Regions from separate parts of the Homo sapiens genome. Here all the other regions are linked to region 3. The links are contacts of gene promoters, found by promoter capture Hi-C in blood cells and fetal thymus (Javierre and others, 2016). All regions are on one chromosome and are shown on one strand. Each heading gives the region's core, a stretch centred on a gene start or on the middle of the fragment in contact. The rest is flanking DNA. Distances are from core to core; before and after follow the strand shown.

What was found. Contacts are between HindIII fragments. The CHiCAGO score rates a contact against its expected background, and 5 or more counts as called.
Region 1: a contact is called between a fragment that was not itself captured here and the fragment with the promoter of C12orf56 in region 3, in 1 of 17 cell types (activated CD4 T cells). The highest score is 5.8, in activated CD4 T cells.
Region 2: a contact is called between a fragment that was not itself captured here and the fragment with the promoter of C12orf56 in region 3, in 1 of 17 cell types (non-activated CD4 T cells). The highest score is 5.8, in non-activated CD4 T cells.

What each region holds. Positions count from the first base shown.
Region 1 is chr12:64,687,835-64,691,288 of GRCh38, reverse strand. RASSF3 (Ras association domain family member 3) reads right to left here. Exons shown (of 5, transcript NM_178169.4): 3 at 2,836-3,073. Among named protein-coding and RNA genes, the nearest start is that of MIR548Z, 67 kb to the right of the region's middle. The HindIII fragment of the contact is 209 bases long and covers 1,819-2,027 here.
Region 2 is chr12:64,718,788-64,721,984 of GRCh38, reverse strand. GNS (glucosamine (N-acetyl)-6-sulfatase) reads left to right here. Exons shown (of 14, transcript NM_002076.4): 12 at 280-390; 13 at 1,803-1,963. Among named protein-coding and RNA genes, the nearest start is that of GNS, 39 kb to the left of the region's middle. The HindIII fragment of the contact is 1,418 bases long and covers 710-2,127 here.
Region 3 is chr12:64,389,347-64,392,732 of GRCh38, reverse strand. It overlaps C12orf56 (chromosome 12 open reading frame 56), which reads left to right and starts at 1,975. Exons shown (of 13, transcript NM_001170633.2): 1 at 1,975-2,419. The coding sequence starts at 2,168. The HindIII fragment of the contact is 6,871 bases long and covers 1-3,386 here.

The DNA of each region.
Region 1 (3,454 bases), core at 674-3,173, 300 kb before region 3:
TTCTGTTCAAATATAAACTGTGCCTTGATTAAGAAGGAAATTATTTTCAAGAATAAATTTTAATAGATATTAGTCCCAAAATATGCTTATAGTTAGCTCTGCTCTTCCTTTTAGAAAACAAGGTAAGAGCCAGGCATGGTGGCTCATGCCTGTAATCCCAATACTTTGGGAGGCCGAGGTGGGCGGGTCACCTGAGGCCAGCAGTTTGAGACCAGCCTGGCCAACATGGCAAAACCCTGTCTCTACTAAAAATACAAAAAATCAGCCGGGCGTGGTGGCGGGCACCTGTAATCCCAGCTACTTGGGAGGCCGAGGCAGGAGAATCACTCAAACCTGGGAGGTGGAGGTTGGAGTGAGCCGAGATCGTGCCATTGCGCTCCTGCCTGGGCAACAAGAGTGAAACTCTGTCTCAAAAAATAAATAAAATTTTTTTTAAATGAAAAAAAAAAGGCAAGATAAGAAACCTAAAAAAGGGTCCACTACTCCTTTAAAAACAATAAAAATAGGCCAGGCATAGTGGCTCGCACCTGTAATCCCAACACTTAAAGGCTGAGGCAGGAGGATCACTTGAGGCCTGGAGTTCGAGACCAGCCAGGGCAACATAGCAGGACCCTGGTCTCCAAAAAAAAAAAATTTTTTTTTCTAACTAGCCAGGCATAATGGGGCCCGCCTATAGTCCTAGCTACTTAGGAGGCTGAGGCAAGAGCATCACTTGAGCCCAGGAGTTCAAGGTTACAATGAGCTATGATCATGCCATGGTACTCCAGCCTAGGTGACAGAGTAAGACGCTGTCTCAAAAACCAAGGCCAGGCGTGGTGGCTCATACCTGTAATCCCAGCACTTTGGGAGGCCGAGACAGGCAGATTGCCTGGGGTCAGGAGTTTGAGACCAGCCTGGCCACCAACATGGTGAAACTCTGTCTCTACTAAAAATACAAAAGTTAGCTGGGCATGGTGGTGGGCACTTGTAATTGTAGCTACTTGGGAGGCTGAGGCAGGAGAATCACTGGAACCCAGGAGGCGGAGGTTGCAGTGAGCCGAGATTGTGCCACTGCACACCAGCCTGGGCAACAGAGCAAGACTCCGTCTCAAACAAACAAACAAAAAACAAATTTAAAAAAAAATGTATATACCATCCAAAGAACATAAAAACAAGAGTTCTAAAAGCAAATCTCTCTACAGATTAATTAAGAATTAGCGAGGCCAGGCGCGGTGGCTCACACCTGCAATCCCAGCACTTTGGGAGGCTGAGGCGGGCGGATCACAAGGTCAGGAGATCGAGACCATCCTAGCTAACACAGTGAAATCCCGTCTCTACTAAAAACACAAAAAAATTAGCCAGACGTGGTGGCGGGCGCCTGTAAGTCCCAGCTACTCGGGAGGCTGAGGCAGGAGAATGGCGTGAACCCGGGAGGTGGAGCTTGCAGTGAGCCAAGATTGCGCCACTGCACCTCCAGCCTGGGTGACAGAACGAGACTCCGTCTCAAAAAAAAAAAAAGAATTAGCGAATTAGCAGCTACAAACCAAGCAATCAGAATATAAGCTCCGGTAGCTTCAAGCACAGCTATATATGTCTCATGCTAGACACACACATACAGTGACATTGCCAATCATGTTAAAGGATTTGCCAGCCATGGGGGTAATATTTCAACAAGTCACGATTACTTTCAGATTGTACAGCTAAAGTCCAGGTGAGCAGGCAAAGAAACTGGCAGATAAAAATGCCATCGAGCTTCTCTACATTATTGTGGCACTTCCAGATGCACTGCATCGCAGGTGCCAATTTCCCTATAGATATAAGCCCCCACAATACTAAGCTTGTGACCTCTGAAGGTAGGAACCCTGGCCTGTTCATCTTTGTATTCCACAGGGTCTAGCCCCATGGTTTGTTTTTAAAAAGATGTATGCATACTCAGCAATGAGCTGGGTTTCATCCTGTGTAACTGAAGAACATTACTATCATGTCAAGGTTAATATATTTTCTTCTATAGCTACATTAGGCTTTACCGAGAAAAACCAAAGAAAGCTTAAATAGTTTATTGTACACACACACACACACACACACACACCCCGATTTCAAATCGCATGTAGTGAGTCACTGAATCACTACTGTCCACCAATGTTATCAATTTCTGGTCACTGCCTGACCTGGAATATCTCATTCTGTTTCACGCAGTAATTTAATATTTAATGTTCTCTTTCTATCCCCTGAATGTGGATATGAAGTTTTAGTCAGACCCTAGATCAAAATGTTATTCACTCATTTGATGAGCCTCTGGGGGACAGAGTACCAAAATGTCCCGGCGTAACACCAAGTGAGACAAGCTAAGGCAACAGGAGAGCCCAGGGCTGGGCCGTTTCCATCAGTACGCTGAAATGTGCTGTGATGCACATGTGCCTCCCCAGTCGCAAGATCTCAGCACACATCCACCAAACCACTCCACGTACTGATGCACATCAAATGTGGAATGTGCTATTGAAAACTTCAAACACAGAGGCACTCTTTTGTGTCCTAAAGAAAACTAAAATCAAAGCCACTCCTAACAACCACCAAAAACAGCCCCCGCCCCATCCCCCCACCAACACCACAAAATACTCGTAACTGCCAATCACATATGGATGCTTCCAAGCTCCTCAGACCCTCAACTGTCCAACTCAAAAATATGGACAGCCAGGAAGCACTAAGTGCATGCTAAGATCACCATGGCTTCCAGCATCGGACTCCAGGCTCTGACACAACTGACATGGATGAGACCCACCAGTCTTCCCTCTGCTAATGAGAACAGCAGATGCAAGTAGAAGCACAGACCATTTTCCTTTTAAGCTGGCAGCGTACCTTGGTCTTCCCTGTGACAACGCTTATAAAGTGCAAACTTGGCAGGGCTCTCAGTCACGAGAAACTTTTTGAGCAGGGCCTCGATCACTTCCCCGACAGTGTTTGTGCTGCTGATATGAAGTGTATTCATACAGCCATTGCTACTGGGAGAGAGTTTTCCAGAATTTGGAGAAGTCTGTGGAGGTTTGCAGAGTTCCATCTGTACTTTAATGAAGCCAGTGTAAATCCCATTTGAATTCTGAAGCAGGGAGAGAAGCACACACTTAGCTGGGTGGATGGTGGCACTTTAGGGAAGAAGCATATCAAAACAAAACGGGAAGGTGAAACACTCCTTTGTTCTCTTCTCTTGAGGTTTGTGGCAGAACTTCACTAAAGATTGCCCCCAAAGGAATGACCTCAGAGGGCGGTTAACACACCAGGCAAAGTGCTTCCAGAGGCAAGGTCTGCAGGGCAGATGTGGACACTGAAGAAGCCTCCTGATGCTGTGGCTGACTGCCGGCCCCAGACTCATGCCTCTGAAGCTACTGGCAAAAGGTCAGGGTCCATTTGCGAGGTTACAATCCAACGGAGCAGATGCTAGCCAAACCACAAAACTTATTAAAGCTTGGGGGATATGTCT
Region 2 (3,197 bases), core at 169-2,668, 330 kb before region 3:
CATTTTACAGGTGCCCATTTTAAGTAATTATTGTCAGGAGTTTAGCAGACAAGGATGGCAACAGTCTACAAATGGAACAACCCATATACCTTGATCAAGTTAGCCAAAGGAACAAAACCTCACATCTGTTTTTGAGTTACTGGCTTCCCCATGGAAGGTTTTCTAATTGCTGTCAAATTGCATGTCCGGCATGAGCCAAGCCGATTGCCCTTCTAGGCAACTAGGTATTTGTTACTATGGAAGAACTGTCTTCATTTAACTTTTGAAATATCCCTACAGCAATGCTTCCCAGACTGTGTATGTGAAGATGCTTATAACAATACCTATGCCTGTGTGAGGACAATGTCAGCATTGTGGAATTTGCAGTATTGCGAGTTTGATGACCAGGAGGTAAGAGGGACTTCTGCCTGCACTTCCCCCGCTCCTTTCTTGCTGGTGCTTTGTTGGCTGGACTTGGTGGCATAAGAGCAATTCCAAGGCTGCTCCCTAGGGAAGAGGTTGTGTTTCTTATCTGTGCTTCACTTTAGGTTTCCTTCAGTTGTAAGGCCATGTCTCACTTCTCTAATTGTAATCTTTCTGAATTGAGTTCTCTCCACTCCCACCACCACCCAAATATACACTTTAAATGCACAATTCACGTTTTCAGAATGATAAATGCTTTGTCTGTTAGCTTCCCTGGTAGATTGGTTGGAGCATTTTCTAGAAAGCTTACCAGCACCTGGTGTATTCGGAAACTCCTGTTCCCACCACAGCATAATCCAATGCTGCTGTAATAGATTAGAGTGGGGGTCAGAGGCCCAGGAGTCCATCCATGGAAGAAGGTGGTTTTTGGCCAACACAGGTTGGTATGGATTATCTGAAGGATCCCATGGACTCTAGTCCCTTGTGGTTTCTTACTGTTTATCAGCATATGCTCACCTGCCCCATCTGGCAACCCTCATCTGACCATCTGGAACAGATGCCCATCTGTGTTTCTCAGAAATGGACTCATTCTCCACTCCATTTGCAGCTGATAAGCACTTTGGACAACAAGCAAGAGAGCTTTCCTCAAACTCAGTTCCTGTTCCCTGCTCCCCCATAATGTTTATCAGTTTGATAACTACTTTATAAGTGATTGTGTGAGTGAGGGCAGCTACCTGAAGCCATTATAGGCAAAATTACCTACCATCTTTCTAGCCTCACATTTGACTCCAATTTGGAGAACAGCATACAGATTATAGAGGGAAAAGTACTGCGTTAGACCTGTCTTATTTTAGAAATAATAATTAGTATTGTGTCCTTCCCCAATATATCCACAATTACTTTTTAAAATAGGAAAACTTAACATTTGTATAACACAGGCAAGAGTACTTTCATATCATTCTCATTTGAACTTCACAATTCTAGGGCAAAAATCACCTTTAAATATTCGCTCTCACTTTAGTAACTTTATTGCCAAGTCTTGTTTCTGAGACCTTGCCATTGGAGGCTCCTGCTTTCTGTTCTAATTACAGAAGATAATGCATTTCTTCCCCATACCCTCTCTTGCCTCTGCCTGAAGGCACAGGGTGTGCAGGGGCCCCTTTTTAGCATGTGGCTAGAGACCCGAAGCAACTGAACCCCCAGAACAGATGCTCCCTCATCTCAAGGAAGCAGTGAGCTCTTTGAGGATCTTGAAAACAGATTGAGAGTCTCCAGGGCCTTGATTTTTTTTTTTTTTAATCTACCTCCTCCCTTCCCCTTTAGAAATAAGTCACGTTAAGAGTATTTCTTCACGGCTAACCTTTGCTCTTTTCTTTCCTCCATTCTTTCATGTCCTCTAGGTGTTTGTAGAAGTCTATAATCTGACTGCAGACCCAGACCAGATCACTAACATTGCTAAAACCATAGACCCAGAGCTTTTAGGAAAGATGAACTATCGGTTAATGATGTTACAGTCCTGTTCTGGGCCAACCTGTCGCACTCCAGGGGTTTTTGACCCCGGGTAAGTTTCCTTTCTCTTCATTTACTTGGCCAAGTTTTTTCTAGTAGACATGCTGTTCTTGAAGGCAAAGGGAGCCCTTTTTGCTGTGAGATGATGATTCTTCTGCTTTAGAGGGAATACTGTGTTCTAATTGCATCAGCCCGTTGTGCTGGGAAAATCAAGCTTTTGAAACTTTTGTTCTCCACTGCCAGTTGTTACTTTAGCCAGAGGTACAGCCCTGCTCCCCACCAAACATGGGGCTCTTGTTATTTTCGTGCTGTGATTATTGTCATGGTACCACTTGTTTGCATTGGTGACACTTGGGGCTTCTTTAAGTAAGCTGCGACCCACTGCTGCCCTGTTCACCTGTTCCCTAGAGCTTGCAAGAGTATATGCCTTCATTTCATTTCTCAGAAACCCCTACTACAGAAACTTGAATGTTTGCTGGTGAATTTAATATATTAAACACACAATGAAAATAGAAGGTGTAAACTCAGATGTTGAAATATATAAGCCCATTGCACGATATGGAGGTATAAAGGATGTTTAGCTGTCACCTGCTATGTCAGATTTGTTCCCCACACGGTCCTTCTTAGTAACTTTTCAGCAGTAACACTGGGTGTCAGTACACCATGCATTTGAGCTGCTGGTGGCAGGAACCTTGTCATTTATCTTTTGCTTGAAGATCATGAAGTTTAAAAATCAAACTTTCACTGGGAAAGGAATATTTTAGTTCCTACCTTCAGACTGTAAGAGAGGGAAGAATGATGTCCTAAGTTGATGGAAAGTTATCACTTAATTTTTTAGCCGTCTTTGTATTAAATTTTATCTTTAGTCCAAATTAGAGACAAATGAATGTGAATGAGTAGAAAAACTCGATGATAGACTGTTCATTGTTTGCTTTTAAATAATGTATATAGTGCCAAAGTGGCATGGACACCAGTAAACTAAAGCCAGGTAACAATATAAAAAGATAATATTTATTATTTTATATCACTTAAATGAAATAACTGTTTTTATATGGATAATCCCATTAGTACAATAAGAATGGTCAAGAATTTTGACCATTGGTCTTTCCTTTGGTCTTTCCTCCAAGTTAGTGAAATAGATCCTAGCTTGGTACCAGTTACCTGAAATAGGAAGTCCAGTCCCTAAAATAAAAGCACAAGACTTCCAGTTTACATGTGCTGACTTTGCAATTTCCAACAGTTACTTAGCTCAGAATGTTCTTTTAAACCAAATTAAGTTAGATGTC
Region 3 (3,386 bases), core at 726-3,225:
TGATATTGTAGTCATTCATCTTTCAACTGCTTTTGTGAGGTGTGGCTATTCAGCAGAGGTGAAGCGCCTTTGCCTTTCTGTTAGTTTGAAGCAACAAACTCTATTTAGAGTGGTTTAGATAATGAGTAGTCTTTATTTTGGAGGAAATAGCCATGCGGCATCTTTTATCAATAAAGGTTGCTACGGATGGTGTAGTTCATTCATTTTTCATCCATTTATGAAGTTAGGAAGGCTCAGATGTGTGATGAGATCCTAAGAAAACTTTAACTACTAGGTCATTTAAGATTTTGCCAGCAGGTGGCACTTCTCTTTACTCACTTGAGTTCCTTAACATGATCTTAGACTTAAGTCTAGCCAGACCCTTACATGGCGGTGGTTCATGCCTGTATTCCCAGCACTTTGGGAGGTCAAGGCAGGCAGATCAGTTGAAGTCAGGAGACAAGCCATGGCCAAGATGGTGAAATCCTGTCTCTACTAAAAATACACACAGAAAAAAAATTAGCCAGGCATGGTGGTGTACACCTGTAGTCCAAGCTACTTGGGAGGCTGTGGCAGGAGAATGGCTTGAACCCAGGAGGCAGAGGCTGCAGTGAGCCGATATCATGCCACTGCACTCCAGCCTGGGTGACAGAGGGAGACTCTGTCTCAAAAAAAAAAAAAAAAAAAAAGTTTAGCCAGACCAAAACATTTCTCTTTCCCTTTGTACTAGTGTAGTCTACAATATCTGTTTATGGATTGTAATATATTTATACCTTCTTTCCACAAGGGATTTGAAGTTGCTTATAACATACAGTATACAATAATAAAATATGTAGAAAGGGAGAATATAAAGAATATATCAAATTTGATTCAGGGTTGCTGGCAGCCACAGCAATGAACGATATGGTTTCATTATCAGGTTTTTGGGTCAATGGGGAGGGGAAGAGAATAACTTTTCTAGGATTCGAAATAAAAAATGGAACTTCTGACTTAGAGCATTTCTGTTGTGCCCTTCTCATTTCTCTAACCTAATTAGTAAGTTATTCTTGGCCTGTAAAAACTAAGGAATACTTACTCCTCTGCAGCCTCAGGGTATGTAATCCGCATTCTTCAGTCTATCAGCTTCAACTTTTCAAGATGCCAGCATCACCCATTCATTCTTCCTGCATAGATTGTCCTGGGCATTGGAAACAAAACCATATGCCTTAGGTTGGTTTGGGTGTGCTCACATCAATTCATGTGAAGAATCCCTTTCTCAAAGGCTGGGCGAGGTGACTTAACGCCTGTAATCCCAGCACTTTGGGAGGCCGAGGCGGGCGGATTACCTGAGGTCGGGAGTTGGAGATCAGCTTGACCAACATGGAGAAACCCCGTTTTTACTAAAATATACAAAATTAGCTGGGCGTGGTGGCGCATGCCTGTAATTCCAGCTACTCAGGAGGCTGAGGTAGGAGAATCGCTTGAACCCGGGAGGGGGAGGTTGCGGTGAGCCGAGATGGCGCCATTGCACTCCAGCCTGGGCAACAAGAGCAAAGCTGCGTCTCAAAAAAAAAAAGAGAAAAGAAAAAAAAAATCCCTTTCTCACTGGTTGGAGAAAGAAGACCTATGTTTACACTCCGACAATATCAGAAAGCTGTGCCAGGCCATGTTATAACCAAAAGCTAAATCTGTGTGATTGGGTTTAATAGGTTTCTAGGGTTGTTAAAAATAAATCGGTAAATTAAACTCTTTCAAGTTTCTAACAGGAAACCAGATTGAAGCTGGCTTCCATTACCAATAAAGTTTGTATTGGATGGTGTGATCCGCAACAGAGTACGCAGTGGTGGGGACTGGCATTAGGGGTGGGCGGGAGAGACCCTAAAAATCCACCGCCCTTCGGCCGCAGGGGACTTCACGGTGATGAGCCCGAGGTGCCCATCAACTCGGGCCTGAAGGACCAGCGTCTTGCCCCGCCCATCGCCGTCTGAGGTTAGGACAAAGATCGAGAGGCTGGACAGGGCTGGGGAGGGCGCTCCAGGGAAGCCGACCTAGCGTCGATTCCTGCAGTTGCGGCCCGGGTCCCCGCGCCTGGAGAGGAGGCGACGCGTGGCCGGCGGCTTTGTGGCGCGCGGGTTCCAGCGCGGGGGCGGGGAGAGGGCGAGCTGAGGGCCTCGAGTCCCAGCACTCCGCCACGCTGCGGGCGCCGGGCATGGCCAGCCCCTTGCCGTCCGGCTTCCCCGCGCGCAGGAACAGCCGCCTGGATGTGTTCCTGCGGCGGCATCTGCCGCCCGAGGTCTACGACGCGGTCCGCGCCTACGAGCCATGCATCGTGGTGTCCAACTCTGAGAACCACATCCTCAAGTATGTGGTGCTAAGCGACCGGCTCGTCTACCTAACCGAGAACCCGCCCAAGTCCATCCGGCGGGTAGTGGCTCTGCGGGACGTCGTGGCCATTGACCTGGTGAGCGGCGCGGGTGGGCAGGCGGGCTCGGGAGCGCAGTGAGAACTCCCGGCTGGGGCCCCCAAACCCAGCCCTCCTGCGCGGGGAGGGCTGCCCCATCCTGCCCTCGACTCCCCTCCTCTTATTTGAGAACGAGGAACACAGGGAAGCTGTGGATTGCTGTGAGCACTCCTAATACAAACACGTCTCCCATTCTCCTCGTGTCTGCCTGTTCACCCATTCTCCCGCCTCCCCTACCCCACGTAGGGCTACAGGTTTGAGAACCGAGCTCCCTATCAAAAATACCTTTTAAAGTCATTCCTTTGTTAACAAAGCACCTAGTCAGTGCCAGGCACTGTGCTAGACTCGGAGGATGCAAAAACGAAAGAGGGCCCCTACCTAGAAGCAGTCGCTGGAGGGCTAGAAAGCCAACACCCGTGCAAATAAATGCTGTGTGTTAAGTGCTGTTATATCTCATTTACTTTTTTGCCCCCGATGCTTAGAGCATGTTAGATGCTCAATAAGAATAAATGCATAAGGCCGGGTGCCGTGGATCACGCCTATAATCCTTACACTTTGGGAGGCCAAGGTGGATAGATCACCGGGGGTCAGGGGTTCGAGACCAGGCTGGCCAACATGGTGAAACGCCGTCTCCACCAAAAGTACAAAAATTACCCAGGCGTGGTCGTGTGCACCTGTAATCCCAACTACTTGGGAGGCTGAGGCACAAGAATCGCTTGAACCTGGGAGGCGGAGGTTGCCGTGAGCCGAGATCGCCCCACCTGCACTCCAGCCTGAGCTACAGAATGAGTGAGACACCGTTCCCCTCCACCCCCTCCCCAGCAAAAGAATAAATGCATGAATAAGCAGATGCGTTAATGAGATGCGCACAGGACGCTTGGCAATCTCAGGCGGCTCACTTGATCCAAACTGGGCGCAGGGCCTGCTGGGAAACGTCTTGGAAGGAGGGGCGTCGACGCTAGGAGCT